Regions from separate parts of the Homo sapiens genome. Here region 1 is linked to region 2. The links are contacts of gene promoters, found by promoter capture Hi-C in human tissues and cell types (Jung and others, 2019). All regions are on one chromosome and are shown on one strand. The core of a region is centred on a gene start or on the middle of the fragment in contact, and the rest is flanking DNA. Distances in the headings are between cores, read along the strand shown. Region 1 has its middle 260 kb from the start of HEAT2. Region 2 holds the start of ADRA2A (adrenoceptor alpha 2A).

Region 1 (3,735 bases), core at 965-3,464, 300 kb before region 2:
CTCATTAGCACATGGCCGGTACTCCAGCCACACACTTTCTTCCAATAAATCACAATTCTACCCAATTGCAAGCCATTGCTCAATCTATTCTATCTCACTGGCTGAAAACATCCCCTTTCCTCCCCTTCATCTATCAAAATTTTATTTATCCTCACAGTGAAGCTTAATCCCAACCTCCATCACAAATTACTTCCCAGTAACTCCATGTTCAGCCTACTGATACTGACTTCCTAAAAAATGCATCTAAAACATGTTGCTTTCTGTTAAGTAGCCAGTGGTTTCTAGAACTAGAACTGAAAACACTGGGTAGATTCTAGTCTGTAACAAGCATTGCCTCTTTCTTGAGCAGCTCACTGTCTATAAGGAGGCGGGAAAGACACACACACACACACACACACACACACACACGACATTTGTGTGCACAAAACAACAAAAGGTTTAAATAGTCACTGACACAGAATTGTGCCAAGTTTTTGTGTGTTTCCTGGGAAGAGAAGAAATACCTTGGCGCAATAAGAGGACAGAATCAAGAGAAATGCCAGGGAAATTATTGCTCCTAGAATGCTTCAATCAGAAACTAACAAGCAAGAGTTACCAGAAACACAAAGGATTAAAAACCAAAAGAAATATAAAGTTTAGGTACCAAGCACTGTCTCTCTACACCATTTTCTTCCCATTCTGTTCCATGGGGGTGGGGGGGTCTTAGCTCACTTGTTTGGAAACAGCTATATAGTGCCTTGGTGTGACCCACTTCTCACTCCTTGATCCTCTGCCTTTGATCAATTGGAGCTGAGTAGAGGGAGGTGATTCTAGCTGGAGTTATGAGCCTCCCAGCCCTCTCACCCTGCCACACTCACATGCAGCAGTTAGCAATTTGAAAATGAAGGATGATGTAATAAAATTGTCAGTAAGTCAAAATCTCTATTAATTATAACATTCCAGGTAGCAATGGCTAGATTAATCATGCTGCATAATAGTTTTTACTGAAGGCACTGTCAAAGCCAGGAATATCTTCTGAATCTTCAAAAACAATTCCTCCTCCATTCACTCTGCTCCAGGCACATCCGCCTTCTTGCAGCTACTCAAGCACTCCAGGCACACTCGGATCTCAGAACAATTGAACTTATTGTTCTCCCTGCTTGGATAGAGCTAGCTTGCTCATGTTCTGTGCTAGATATTCTCTGTTCTTTATCCCTCCATATCACTTTCCACTGCTCAGTCTCAAGAGGCTGACCTCTATGGACAGCATCATCAAGCTCCTCTGCCTTCTGATTTCTGGTTGAGTTCAACCAATGGGAAGCATTGACAAGAATTAGGCATAAGGAAGAAAGAAGGTTGGGGCATTTCCTCCTCAACTCCCTCTCTTCCAGCCTCAATTTTGCAGTGGCTGTGTTGCTCCATTGAAGGCACAGCTCATGCCAAGCAAACCCTCTCCAACGGCTATAATGGTCACTGAGTACCTTCAAGCCTTGGTGGCTACAGTTTTTGAGGGCTTCACCTTGCTTCCTACATTTCCTTCCTAGGTATTCTTATTTTTGGGGAACCATCTTTTCATTAAACTCCATTGAGACACTCATTTGAGTTAGTCAACCATTTCCTACAGAGACTGCCTAATATACCGTCTTCAAATCTTGGTACAAATGTGAATTACTCATGAAGTCTTCCCTTACTACTCTATTAAAAACTGTAGTTCTTCTGTGAAATAGTTCCCAGAATCAGACCTAAAGATCTAGAGGAAAGGGAAGGTTTTAAGATCTGCGTACCAGGCTGGGCGTGGTGGCTCACACTTGTAATTCCAGCACTTTGGGTGGCTGAGGTGTGCAGATCATGAGGTCAGGAGCTTGAGACCAGCCTGGCCAACATGGTGAAATCCCGTCTCTACTTAAAAAAAAAAAAAAATTAGCTGGGCATGGTGGGTCACACCTGTAATCCCAGCTACTCAGGAGGCTGAGGCAGGAGAATTGCTTGAACCTGGGAGGCAGAGGTTGCAGTGAGCCGAGATCATGCCACTACACTCTAGCCTGGGCAACAGAGTGAGACTCCATCTGGAAAAAAAAAAAAAAGATGTGAGTACCAGCTAATGAAGCATTATTGTCAGCTTGTGTCTCCATTTCCAATGGGAAGGGAGGACATGAGGTCAACAGAGAGCAAGAAAAATTGAGGCAGGACCTCAAGAATATCTTGAGGACCATGAGGATTGGCAGACACAGAAGAGTGTTATGAGAGAGGATGTGGAGTTTCTGGGAAGTAACCCCTAAATCAGAACCTTCTATTCTACATGTGGAGAGGCTCAGTGGGAAAATGTCACCCTGGTGGAAAGATCTTTGGTATATATATGCCCACTGAGGTCAAGAAAGCATCCAGTAAACCATCTTAATTGAGGTTTCAGACTGAGCAGAGGGGCTCTTTTAGAGGAAGAGTCAGAAGGAGGAGATGAGTTTACTCGCATTCCCGAGGAAGCCACTTCTGGAGTGTGGAGCACACTCTGATTGCCATTTAGCTTCTCAAAACCTGAAAAGTGCAGCTCAGAGACCACGTGTCTGAGAGCATGGAAAAGTCTGGAATATCTCAGGTTCATTAGTTTGTTACACCTCATCTCTCCCCTACATTGATCAGAAAAGATCCTATGGGCTTCCTTCTGGGCCAACAGGAGGTATTTTTGTTAACTGCACCCCTCCCTACAGGCCTTTGTGCTGGAAAGGACAGAATCCCTAGAGACAGTTACCAAGGAGTGAGAGAGCAGGGGAAGTACACGTGTAAGAAGCCCTAGTAACCAGAGATGTGCAGAGATGAAAATAAAGGTAGGCAGGTGTCTCCTGTTTTTCAGCTAGAGTCTTGTTTTGAAGAGCCTCTTTAAGAACATTCCAGTCTTCTAAACATATAAGGATACAAGCCAAGAAAATCCATCAAAAATTTAAAATTACAAAAGAATCTTTAAAGAAGTGACAAACTTGATTGATCCTTCTCTTTCTCCTCTTTGTATAAGGCTCATCATTGTGCTCTTCTAAGACCAGACAAGGGATACCAAGTTCCCAAGCATGCATGCATTCATGCATCCACATATCCAGCTGATGTTTATTAAATATTTACCATGTGTCACACACCGTGAGAGACACTAACGGTCTATTGGTGAACAAAATGGACAAACTCTGTACCTCCATGGAACTTATAGACTTGTTGGAGGTCATAGACATTTTTGTCTGTTTTTTTAATATAAGATAAATTGTTAAGAAAATGATATTGTAGTAAATATTTACTGTTTTCCTTTGCCTGAAATCAATTTTTCCTTTGGATAATTGCATTCCTCTCCCATTCTCAGTCCCTGTCATTTGGGGAGGCTTCTATTCTCAGATTCTAGGAGTAGGCAGAAAGCCCAGGATTGGTCAAAAAGAGTTTAGCTTTGAGGACTAAGCTCTGATTTTTTTTTTTTATCTTGCCCAAATCCCTATCTAAGGGGTCTGAGGAGTCATGTCCTACAAACCACAAATTCTCATCAGATGTTTTTTATTTAACCCTGTATATCATGACTTACTTTCCAATCTGACTCTGGCATAAAAGAAAGTAAATAAAATTATTTTACCCCAAAACATGTTTCTCTGTCATTATCTTGAAATGACCCTAAAAGGCATCCCTTGTTGGGAAAAATCCACCTTCTATAGAGAATCCCCCTTCCCCCCACTTTTTTTTCCTTCCTTCATTTCCAGATGCAGGAGATAATCAACTAAGAGCCAGGCA
Region 2 (4,040 bases), core at 76-2,575:
AGCCTTGCCGAAGTACCAGTAGCCCATGACCTCGTTGGCCAGCGAGAAAGGGATGACGAGCGTGGCCACCAGGATGTCGGCCGAGGCCAGAGACACCAGGAAGAGGTTTTGGGGCGCCTTGAGCGCGCGGCTCGTGAACACGGCGATGATGACGAGCACGTTGCCGAACACGGTGAGCAGCATGAGCAGGCCGGCCAGGCACACCAGCGTCAGCGTCACCTGCAGGGAGTAAGGGGTGGCCCGGGCGCCGCCCCCCGGCGCCTCGGTCCCGTTCCAGCTCGCGTTGCCCGCGTCCGGCTGCAGGGAGCCCATGGGCGCAAAGCTGCCCTCGGCCAACGGCTGCTCCTGGCGGAACATGAACGCGGGCGCCCGCTGGCCTGGGCCTGCTGCCAGCTGCCTTCCGGCCCGGCGCCCGTGGGTCCTCCTCTTCCTCCGGCGCCCCGCTCGCCTGGCTGCGGCTCACATAGGGAGGGGGCCGCAGGGAGGCCGGGCCCGAACTGGAGGACCGCTAGCGGCCCATGGCCCGGGTCCCGCGAACTGCGCCTGGCTCGCGCTTCAGACGCTCTCGGTGGGCGCCTTCTTGCTCCGAGCTCCTAATACAGCCAAGTTTTATTTCTAAGCGGCGGGAGAGAGTAGGGAGAGCCGATGGGTAAAGAGAGATTTATTCTTCAAGAAGGGAGAACAAAAATCATCGGTGGCCTGATAACTTGGAAGGATGACAGGAAATTAAATATATATATACATATCAATATCTGTATCTTGAATCTTGAGCCTGAGCGAAAGCAAGAGGTCTTACCGTGTGCGGGGCCCGCCCCCACCCCGGGAGGCAGCCGAAGGGTGCTGATGCGAGCTCGGGGGTCCTATGTCTGTCGCCTTACATCCCCGAAGCGATTACCGACTCTCTGGCTTCCCCCAGACGCTGCGGTTCTGGCCCGGCCCGGCCCGGGGCTGGGGCGCGGACTCTGCCGCCTCTCGGAGCGCCGCGAGACTTCCAAAGTTGTGCGCCCTGCTGGGGCTGGGGCACACTGTGCGGAGCTCCGGGACGGCGGCGGCGGCGGGGTGAGGAGTGTGGGGGCCGCATGAAGGCACCCCCGTCCTCAGGCGGGCCGGGGCAGGTGAACGATCAGCTCTCCAGGAGCCGCGACGGAGGCAGGGGTTCTCCTGGGCGTCCGCCTGGTGGGCGCCGAGCGCTGCTGGATGGGCCGGGGTCCGACGACAGCGCGAGTTGGGGCAGGAGCGCAAGGCGGGGAAGAAGGCGCTGGAGTGGCCGGGCGGCGGCACGCCGGCTGCTGGGCTTCTGCACCGAGCTGGAGCTGCTGCTGCTCCGCTGCGCTCACGGTGGACTCGTTTTATAGCCCCAGGATCAAGCAAGCGTTGCTGAGCAGCCGGCGTCAGCCCCCACGTGGGAAGCCGACCCTCCCCCGCCCCTCGCACCACCCCTCCGCCAGTCTAGCGCCCGCGCCTAGCGCTGGACCTCGGGGAGCGTTGCCCTCAGGCGGGACGAGCCCTTTGGAGAGGCGGGTACCTTGAGCTAGAGACTTAAAGAGGGAGCCCGGGGGTGGGGGGTAGGGGAGGAGCGGCCCCTGCTGGGAGTTGGCCATGCAGCTCCGGGCCGACGGAGCAGAACGCAACGGGCACCCGTGAGTGCCCCCAAGAAGCTGGATCTTGGGAGAAAAGGGAAGAAAAAAATGGAAGGGAATCCCCGCCCAAATCGAGGGAAGTAACCTCCGGTGTGAGTTACGTCTGGAGCAGCCCAGCTCCGGGCCAGAGCCGACGCGGTCCGCAGGTGCTCCTGGAGGCTGGGGAGAAAGGGGTCCTGGAGAGGGAGGAAGGCGCGGCTTCGGATGGAACCCCTGGGGCGGAATGGACAGCACCCACGGGGAAGTGGTACAAGCCGGAGTTCAGACCTCCGCTTAGGGAAGAAGCGGCTACGTGTCCTCCCAGCCGCGATGCTGTCTGCGGGAAACGCAAGACCCGGGGTCTGGACCGCGCCCCCTTAGACCGAGGTGGGGAGGGGTCCAGGAGCCGAGCGCCAGGGCAAAGCGAGGACGCACTGACACCTGCTGGCCGCTCGTGGTCACGGCTGAGAAGCGACCCGCTGACGCCAGGCGCCTCCTCCCGTCTCTTAGGTCTTCTGCCAACAGAGCCTTCTCCTATCTCCGAACAAATTGGTTTCTAAGCTCAGGAAAGGAGAACCCAGAGTTTGAATTGCACCCTGCCGTGTTGCAGAAATCTTCCTAAAGCAGATACTCGTGTGTCTACCCCTGGCGGGAGTGGGGGTTTGTCTAATAAAGTCACATCAGGAAGGGCTCAGCAGGCACCGCCGGCCAGAACGGGCATCCCACTCTGGACCCGCACAGCCCACCCTTCCTGCAGATCCGAGAGAGGCCAGGATCCTGCCTCCTTGGTTGCACAGCTCTGGCTTGCTGGGAATCATTATGTTTTTGTTGAGGACCGAAAGCTAGACTCCACTCCCGCCCCGCATCCCACCCCCATTCAGATGTACACACAGCATCCTTCAATAAGGGGAAGAGGGAGTAGAATATTTTCCATGTTCTCTCTGATAAGAATAGCGGTGGGGGCGGGGGGGAGTGGGTGTGCGGCGAATGGCAAGTTTTTCCGTGCGTGCTAGCTGTCCTAGGATAGATTTTAACGGTCACTAGAGCACTAGCTTGCACCCTGCTAGCTGCACTTTTCAGATGAGAGCAAGCAGTTTAATGGTAAAACCCAAGAGGGTAGGAAATTTCAGCAGGAGAGAGATTAGACTTAAAGGAATGTCGTCTTATTTAAGGAACCACTAAACCAAAATGCCTTGTGCAGTCACCTAAGTTGGAATTCCAAGGATGGAACAGGCTGCCTCTCTGTGCAGCCAGCTGCAGGCTTAGGTCTGGCTGGGGGCTGATGGCTAAATTAAGGGCCCTGAGAATCACCTTCATTCCCAGCTGATGTCTATAGCCCGCACCAGTGATACAGTTATTGGTGCTGCTGCTGTTCATGTAGTCTCAAAATCTGTACTTTCCAAAGTATTTCACAGAAGTCTCATTTGACTTCAGTACCTTTGTCTCCCAATCTTTGCCCTAATGGTATAAACTCCCTTTCCAGTGTTAGTTCTGAGGAGCCTTTCTAATCTCCCTTTCTGGACAATCTAAAGGAAGCTGAGAAGACAATTTCCTCGCTCTGTTGAGTCACTCATTTTCCATCTTCTACTAAAGTCTCTGCTCTGAGGCTCTTGGCAGGGGCTTTGGACATCGCCAGTAGGCTCAGTTGGAAACATGGCTACAGTCATTTTTGCACAGCAACTAGGAACCCCACACTTCAAGTATGAATACTAAGAGACAAAAATCAGAGCCCGTGGCAATCTGGGGTTTGCTGTGTTGCTGTTTGTAGAACTCGGGAACTGAGTCTTAGGAGACCATCACTTACCATCTGCACCCCAGCTTCCAACACACTGCTCTTCTTCCTAATTTCAGAATCAAAAGAGGAAATAAAAACAAAGTTTACAGTAATTATCTTTCTTGAAATTTCTGCTGCTAGCCTGTGTATGACACCTCTTGTCATATTTTCTAAATGCTTCCCAAACAGCCAGGTGGTTTCTTAATTCCCTGATTTGGAGTCTTTTCTCCTAAAATGGGAACAGGTCTTTTCAGAGCCAGGAACCCTGAGGCCAATACACAACGAATACCAATAATAACAAGTGCTGCATTTTATTAAGTACCATGATGTATGCACCATGTGTAGGGTGATATACATGGCCCCTTTATACACAGAGTTCTTATTCCTGTCACATGTTCCTTATCACCAAAGGTTCTGCCTCCTCAGTTTGTCACACAGGGTCAGTATCTCTGAGCTTTGAAAAGCTATGTGGACACCATTAATTTTTGCTAGAAGATTTCATGCTGTGCAAGCTGAGTGAGACATTGCTGAGCAGAAAGATATCCACAAATATAATAATTCTCAACCAGGCCTATAGATCAGCATTTCCTAGGAAGACAAAATACACTTACCAATGCCCCACCAGGGAAATTATTCACCAGGTCCAA

Evidence for each region. Contacts are between HindIII fragments. The study calls those that stand out against the background at their distance.
Region 1: a fragment that was not itself captured here is called in contact with the fragment with the promoter of ADRA2A in region 2 in 1 of the 25 tissues and cell types used here (H1 embryonic stem cells).

The regions. Positions count from the first base shown.
Region 1 is chr10:111,377,063-111,380,797 of GRCh38, reverse strand. No RefSeq gene overlaps it. Among named protein-coding and RNA genes, the nearest start is that of HEAT2, 260 kb to the right of the region's middle. The HindIII fragment of the contact is 5,148 bases long and covers 1-3,735 here.
Region 2 is chr10:111,074,314-111,078,353 of GRCh38, reverse strand. It overlaps ADRA2A (adrenoceptor alpha 2A), which reads right to left and starts at 1,325. Exons shown (of 1, transcript NM_000681.4): 1 at 1-1,325. The coding sequence starts at 357. RefSeq lists a silencer at 1,313-1,362. The HindIII fragment of the contact is 8,357 bases long and covers 1-4,040 here.